2 separate regions of the Homo sapiens genome follow, and region 1 is linked to region 2. Evidence: promoter capture Hi-C in human tissues and cell types (Jung and others, 2019). All regions are on one chromosome and are shown on one strand. Each heading gives the region's core, a stretch centred on a gene start or on the middle of the fragment in contact. The rest is flanking DNA. Distances are from core to core; before and after follow the strand shown.

Region 1 (3,418 bases), core at 885-3,384, 36 kb before region 2:
CCACTGCTGAAAGCATCCTGGAAGTCCCTCCAGCACCTCAAACTCAGCAGAATTCAAGCAGAACTTACCCCATGTCAAAACTGCCCCTACTCCTTGGCTGTCCACACAGTCCCTCAGATAGGAAACCTGGGCATGCCCCGTCTCACCCCTCTCCTGGCCAGCACATCTCACCCACGGCCATGTGCTGGCCTTTTCTGCCTGGGAACACCATATCTTCCTGTTGGGCCCTGCTGCCCATGCTACCTGGTTAGGTCTTCACGAGTCCTCCCCTTCCTCGCTGGGCTCCTGCCCTGCAATCTCCCTCCATACTACCCAGTGAATCTTTCTTAGACACAGAATTAATCAAACATGTGGGCAGGCTTGAGACAGCAGGAGCCAACTTGTCTCTGGTCCGCCGATGAATGAATGGCGGGCAGAGGTTGGGAAGTGGGCTGGGCAGGCCCACTGTGGGCTCACACTCACTGAGCGCCAACCGTACACTTTACCGTCATCATACCCAGTGAAGGTGGGTACCACTGGACCCATTTCACAGATGGGGAAATTGAGGGTACAGAGGTCATGAATGTCACACCCAGCCCCCAGCCAGGAGATGACAGAGTTGGATTTTGAACTCCAGTCTAACTTCAGAGCCTGATTCTCTTCAATGTTTAGAGGTTATCTCTAGAGACTAAGGGGAAATAATTTGTGTTTGGGGCCCTTAAGGGTCAGTGAATCAAGTGGCTTCCTGAGAAAGGAAGGAAGTCTCTTGCGGGGGGGCAGGGGGTGGTGTATGTGTGTGTGTGTGTGTGTGTGTGTGTGTGTGTGTGTGTGTGTGTGTGTATGTCCAGCTCCTGGGCAGACCTGTGCGTCCAGCCTGAAAGTGAATGTTGCTGCCACTGCTGCCCTCCACTGACCAGAGGCAGAACTGTTCCAATCTCTTGGGAATCTGACTTCACAGGGGACTACATTGCCCAACTCCACGGACCCTGAGAAACCAGATGGGTTAAGGTTAAATCCCTAATATACAAAGAGTTCTTAAAAAGCAATAAGAAACAAACAAATTTAATCCAACAGAAAAAAATAGACAAAGGACATAAACAGGCCATTTCACAAAAGAAAACATCCAAATAGCCAATAAGCAGATGATCAATTTCACTAATAACCAAATAAATGATAATAAAAACAATAATGACAAGTTCACCTGTTAGATTACAAATTGACAATGCCTTCTTTTAGAAAGAGTGCTGAGAAACAGGCATTCATGTATTGTCAGTAGCAGTGAGATTGGTACTAGCTTTTTGGAGGGCAATATCAAAAATTTTAATATTCACATTTTTTTTTGAGACAGGGTCCAGGCTGGAGTGCAGTGGTGTGTGTAATCACAGGGCACTGCAGCCTCGACCTCCAGGGCTCAAGTCATCCTCCTGCCTCAGTTTCTCAAGTAGCGTGGACCATAGGCATACACCACCATGCCCAGCTAATTTTTAAATTTTTTGTAGAGGCAGTATCTCCCTATGTTGCCCAGGCTGATCTTGAACTCCTGAACTCGAGTGATCCTCCCACCTTGGCCTTCCAAAGTGCTGGATTATAGGCATAAGCTGCCATGCCCAGCCCCTACATTTTTCTACCTAACTGTTCTGCATCTAGAAATTTATCCTAAAAATGCAAAAGAATATATGTTTAAAGGTGTTTGCTGCTACAGTGTTTATGGTCCATCTATGGACTATAGAGAAAAATAGGGAGCCACTAAAAATAAAGACGTAACTGGATTCTGCTCATGTTCATGCTGATCACGTTTATACATTTATGTAAATTGTATATTTGTATGTGAGTATGTAATCAAAGTAAAACTTTGACAGTAATAAGATAAATATATTTTTTACATAGATATCCATGACATATTATGGAGTGAAAAACTGAGATTGCACCATAGTTAAAATACTATGATCCAGTTTACATAAAGTTGTGGGTGTGTGTTTGTGTGTGTGTGTGAACATAAGGAGTTATCTTGGAAGACTGTTACCAAAATCTTAATGGTGGCTACCTTTGTATAATAAGATTTCACTTAAATTTTACTTTCTCCTGTATACTTCTCTTATGGTTTAAATTTCTTTTTAATGAGTCTATATTATTTTAATAATGAAAACAATAAAGTTGTTTTCATTCTGAAGAAAGAGAACAGTCAGAAGATCTTGCTTCCCCAGGTGGGGGAGCCCAGTGGTAGGATGGGGGTGGCCCTGCTAGGACAGCAAGCTGGTGGTTGGGATATTAAGGTGGGGTGCAGAGATCTGGAGCTGCATCTGACCCAGTGTAAAGTTGCCTGGAATGAGTCCTAGATGGTCAGAGAGGAAAACGCCTGCTGGTCTAACACCCTCTGTGTGAGGCAGGAGTGACAGATTACATGGCTCAGATTGGGCAAGGGAATTGGCCAAGGTTACACAGTGAGCTAGTGCTGAATTGGGCACCAAAACCCAGGCCTTCAGACCCTAGGCCAGGGCTCCTTCCTCACTGCTCTCACTTCATAAGGTGGATCTGAAGGTCAGAAGTTAGATCAGGTTAGGCAGCAGGTTTCCACTGAGATGGTGCTGTTACTGATTTGCTGGGAGTACAATTATCTCCAATTTAGCCTCCTTAGCACTGAGCCAGGAAGTCATTGCTCCCTGGGAACATCTTTGTGCCACGTGCCTGTTCCTGATGCTGAGCTGGAAGCTGGGTTGTAAGGGATGGATGGTGGCCTCTCTCCATCCCCAGTCTTCCTGCCTCCAGAACCGCCTCAGCAATTCATTCTCTACACCACCCTAGGGGGATTCCCTGAAAACTCTACTCCCACGCGTCGCCTCTGCTTGGAAAAGCTCTCTGTGGTTCCCCACCGCCCTTATTCAAGGCCTTCAGTGATGTGAACCCACCCTCCATTTGCAGCCCTTGCCCAGCCCCTCCAGCCACCTGCACAGGGGGCCCATCCTATGTGCTGACTCTACCAAGTCTTTTTACCTTCCTGTACCTTGGCTCATGCAACTCTTTCTATTTATTATTATATTCCTGCCTTCTATAAGTGCGAAGCTTTTGATCCTTCTTTAAAATCATCCTAAATAAATGTTCTTTCCTCCAGGAAGCCTTCTTTGACTCCCAGAGGAATTTTTTTTTTCCTGTTTCTTTTTTTTTTTTTTTTTTTTGAGACAGAGTCTTGCTCTGTGGCCCACGCTGGAGTGCAATGGCACAATCTCGGCTCACTGCAACCTCTGCCTCCTGGGTTCAAGGGATTCTCCTGTCTCAGCCTCCTGAGTAGCTGGGATTACAGGCGCCTGCCACCACGCCTGGCTAATTTTTGTATTTTTAGTAGAGATGGGGTTTCACCATGTTGGTCAGTCTGGTCTCGAACTCCTGACCTCATGATCTGCCCGCTTCAGCCTCCCAAAATGCTGGGATTACAGGTATAAGC
Region 2 (3,763 bases), core at 480-2,979:
ATGGCTGTTGCAATTCCAAGCATTGCCACCAAACATATCCCAGCAAAGGGGGCAGACTGTTTTGCAAAGTAAAGAGACCATTTCCTGAAAACCCCTCTCTGCCATAGGCTTCCCCTTTAGTTTTTCAGGCTGGACCTGCCCAAACCGTCACTGGCAAGAGGAATGAGACCACCATAATGGACTTGGACCAAACAAGACTCACTCCATGAGACCACCATAATGGACTTGGACCAAACAAGACTCACTCCTGGAAATGGGCTGGGGTCAGCCTTCCTTGGGTCACTTGGGGAAGGGGGCCACCTGACCAAAATCAGGGCTCTGCCCATAAGAAAATGTTGAGAAACTGCTGTTGCATGAGCAACCAACTATTTTTCTCGCAATGATGGAGATTCTGGGCCAGATGAGGGTGTGATGGAGAAAGTGTTAACCATAGAGAACTAAACTGAGAGCTTTTTCATAAACTGTACCTCAATAAAGTTTAACACCAATGAAGATATTTCTGGAGGAGGCAGAAACTGGTAGCCACCCTCTATGGCTCATTTCCCTCACCCCCGTATCCAACCATCACCAAATGTCACCGTGTCTGTACTTGCAATACCCTAGTCTTCTCTCCTTACCCACTGCTGAGGCCCCAGTTCGGGTCTCACCTCCTGCAGGCACGATGACAACAGCACCTTAGGGGTGCCCAGTCTTTCCTTCCTCCTGCAACCCAGGGCGTTGATGCGGTTATTCAGCTACACACCTTTACTGTGTGCTGAGTGCTGTGCATCCGCAGACACATTGGAAAAGCTCCCTGTCTTCTTCACCTTGCAGATGGTATAATGATTATCTCCAAGACTTCCTGAAACCCAATCGGACCAGGTCATTCCCTTGCCTGAAAGCCCCATGCCTTCAAGAAATTCTTTACCATGACCCACAATGCCCTCCAGCCCACCCAGGCTCCTTCTCCACCCCACCCCCAACAGTACAGAATTACTAGCACTTCCTTCACTGCGCCCTCCCCTTTCACGCCTCTATGCTTTTGCACAGGCTGTCTCCTCTGCCTAGAAATCCCTTATCCCCTCTCCATCTGGCACACAAGACAAGTTCTCCTATTACTTTTTCTCCCTCTCTCCTGCTCCACCCCTCACCGCCTTACACACACACACACACACACACACACACACACACAAATACAGCACTCCAGAATTGTTTGCCAATGGAGGCAGCCTCCGGGGCCAGATGTTAGCCAGGGCTTTCCAAACTTCTCCCCAAGCACTCCTTAAGAAAGTGAAGAGGAAATGGGACCCCAGGGCTTAGGAGTGTGAGGGCCTTGAACTCGCTCTAAGCAAGCAGGGCATTTCAAGAGTTTTATCTTTATATTTTATGCAGAAGTTGTATTCCAAATATATTCTTGTTCGTTTTAATACAAAATATGATTTTTTCTACATCTTCAAATCGATGATCCAGAAAGATGCTCCTTGTTTATTTGTTGTGCTCTCAAATTAGCTGCTCCGCCTCGCCGCGGGGACCCTAAGCGAGACCTGGATGCAGTTCCAAGTACACACCCCGAAGGAACAGCTGGGCTTCGCTTCCCTGGGAGCTGGAGGATGGTGGGGGTGGGGCGGGGTCAACCGGCTGGTGGCCCCGCCCCTCCCCCGCCCGCTGCGGGGGCGGAGTTGCTTGGGTCCCGCCCACGGGGGCGGGGAGGCAGCCGCGGCCACCGGCAGCTCGGATTCGGCTGGTTCCGGGTTGAGAGGCTGCGCTGGACCGAAGCGGTGGCTGCTAAGCTCGCGGGGGTAAGGGGTCGCGCTGGGCCAGGGTTTGGGGCCGGGATCCGGCAGCTGAGCGGGCCGGCACCCCTCCTCTTCTCTGCCGGTCACAGCCAATGTACGGCTCGGCCTGGCTGCCCCCTCCCCCAGGATTCCCCATCCCCAGCTTCTCGCCCTCCCCGCACCGCCCCCACCCCGGGATTTCGACCCCCTTAAGGGCTCCACCCCGCTCCGGGATCCCCTTCTCCCAGCTCCTATCCCTTAGGACTGCCCCGCCCCCTAGAACCTCCCCGTCAGGATCTCCGTCCCTCAGCCGCTCACAGCCTCCTCCCAGCGCCCATCGCCTTGAGCTGCCCACTACCTCTAGACTGCCCTCCCGGGCTGGCGTCCCACGGAGTCTCAGCCGCGCACCCCTTCCTCGCGTTACCCTCCTTCCGGACAGCACCCCCTCCCTTCTCCGGTAGCTCCTACCCCTGCCTGTGCGGGCCTCGTCCCCGCGCCCAGCCCTCGGTGCTGCCTCCGACAGCGCCGCGCTCTCTCAGCCGCCCCCCTGCCCCTCGGGCCCCCCTCTCTGCTGCCCCTGGCGCCATGGCGTGCAGCCTCAAGGACGAGCTGCTGTGCTCCATCTGCCTGAGCATCTACCAGGACCCGGTGAGCCTGGGCTGCGAGCATTACTTCTGCCGCCGCTGCATCACGGAGCACTGGGTGCGGCAGGAGGCGCAGGGCGCCCGCGACTGCCCCGAGTGCCGGCGCACGTTCGCCGAGCCCGCGCTGGCGCCCAGCCTCAAGCTGGCCAACATCGTGGAGCGCTACAGCTCCTTCCCGCTGGACGCCATCCTCAACGCGCGCCGCGCCGCGCGACCCTGCCAGGCGCACGACAAGGTCAAGCTCTTCTGCCTCACGGACCGCGCGCTTCTCTGCTTCTTCTGCGACGAGCCTGCACTGCACGAGCAGCATCAGGTCACCGGCATCGACGACGCCTTCGACGAGCTGCAGGTGCGCTACCCGGCCTGCCTGGGGAAGGGGCGGGGCCGGGCTGGAGGTGGGGCCGGGCGGGGGGTGGGGTCAGGGCTGGACCGCGGGCCAGGCCCAGTCAGAATGGTCCTGGGGCGGGGCCGCCAGCAAGGTCAGGGCCCTATCAGGAGTAACGCGGGGCAGGGAGGGGCGGGGCCGCCGCATGGCGGGGCCGTGGGGGCGGGGCCTTGGGCAGTCCGGACCCTGAGGGATCTGAGACAGACCTGGAGTACCGGCTGGTCCGCGGTTAGGGAGAAGTCGGGGATGCGGATGGGATGGCGGAAACAAGTGAGATCAGAACTGGACCAGATACTGGGCTGGGGCAGGGTTGTGGACGAACCGGAATCAGAGTTGGGCAAAGGCAGGGCCACTGTCAGACTGAGGGCGAGGTCGCGAGGATGGGTCTGTATTAAACCGGGTAGCTGAGCTCTGGCAGGCTGGGGGTTCTGTGGGGGCGGAGACCGGATCAGATGTGCATCAGGACTAAGAGGAGTACGGGGGCTAGAATGTGCTGGACAGGTGAGGGTGAAACCTAATAGAGTGGTATAAGTTAGGGTGCCAAAGTGCTGAGAGGGCAGGTTTGAGTACCGAGGGTTAGGCCAAGGTGTATGAGGGGTTAAGACTGAGATCAGGTCCGGATACTCTACAACAAGTTTAGATTTAAGCCAGAGTAGAGGCCAGGTTGAGTGGGGCCAGGACTTAAAGGTAAAGATTTGGAGAATAAGGCCCAGATGTAAGGTGATTCAAGAAGGGAGGGGCTAGACCTCTAGGAGTCTCTAGAGGTTTTTGATGACCTCTTTGGCTCTGTCCCCCACATCAGGACTTTTGAAGACTAAGTGAAACGGTACATGCAGAGTGACCTGAGCATAGTTGGCATAGAACTCTAATCGGTCTCCCTTAAGACTTCCTGTCTTCACTGACAAACTCCTACTCAACTTTTATTGAGCCTTGCTCAAATATCCTCTCCGTGAAGCCTTCTCCAAGTTCCACTGGTCAAA

Evidence for each region. The method cuts DNA at HindIII sites, captures the fragments that hold promoters and counts their contacts. A contact is called where the count stands out against the background at its distance.
Region 1: a fragment that was not itself captured here is called in contact with the fragment with the promoter of TRIM62 in region 2 in 1 of the 25 tissues and cell types used here (aorta).

What each region holds. Positions count from the first base shown.
Region 1 is chr1:33,216,334-33,219,751 of GRCh38, reverse strand. It overlaps a transcript of ZNF362 not described here. Among named protein-coding and RNA genes, the nearest start is that of TRIM62, 36 kb to the right of the region's middle. RefSeq lists an enhancer at 1-344. The HindIII fragment of the contact is 7,640 bases long and covers 1-3,418 here.
Region 2 is chr1:33,180,009-33,183,771 of GRCh38, reverse strand. TRIM62 (tripartite motif containing 62) reads left to right here and starts at 1,729. Exons shown (of 5, transcript NM_018207.3): 1 at 1,729-2,747. The coding sequence starts at 2,340. It also overlaps a transcript of ZNF362 not described here. RefSeq lists silencers at 1,555-1,864, 2,095-2,164, 2,755-2,954 and an enhancer at 3,037-3,206. The HindIII fragment of the contact is 6,299 bases long and covers 1-3,763 here.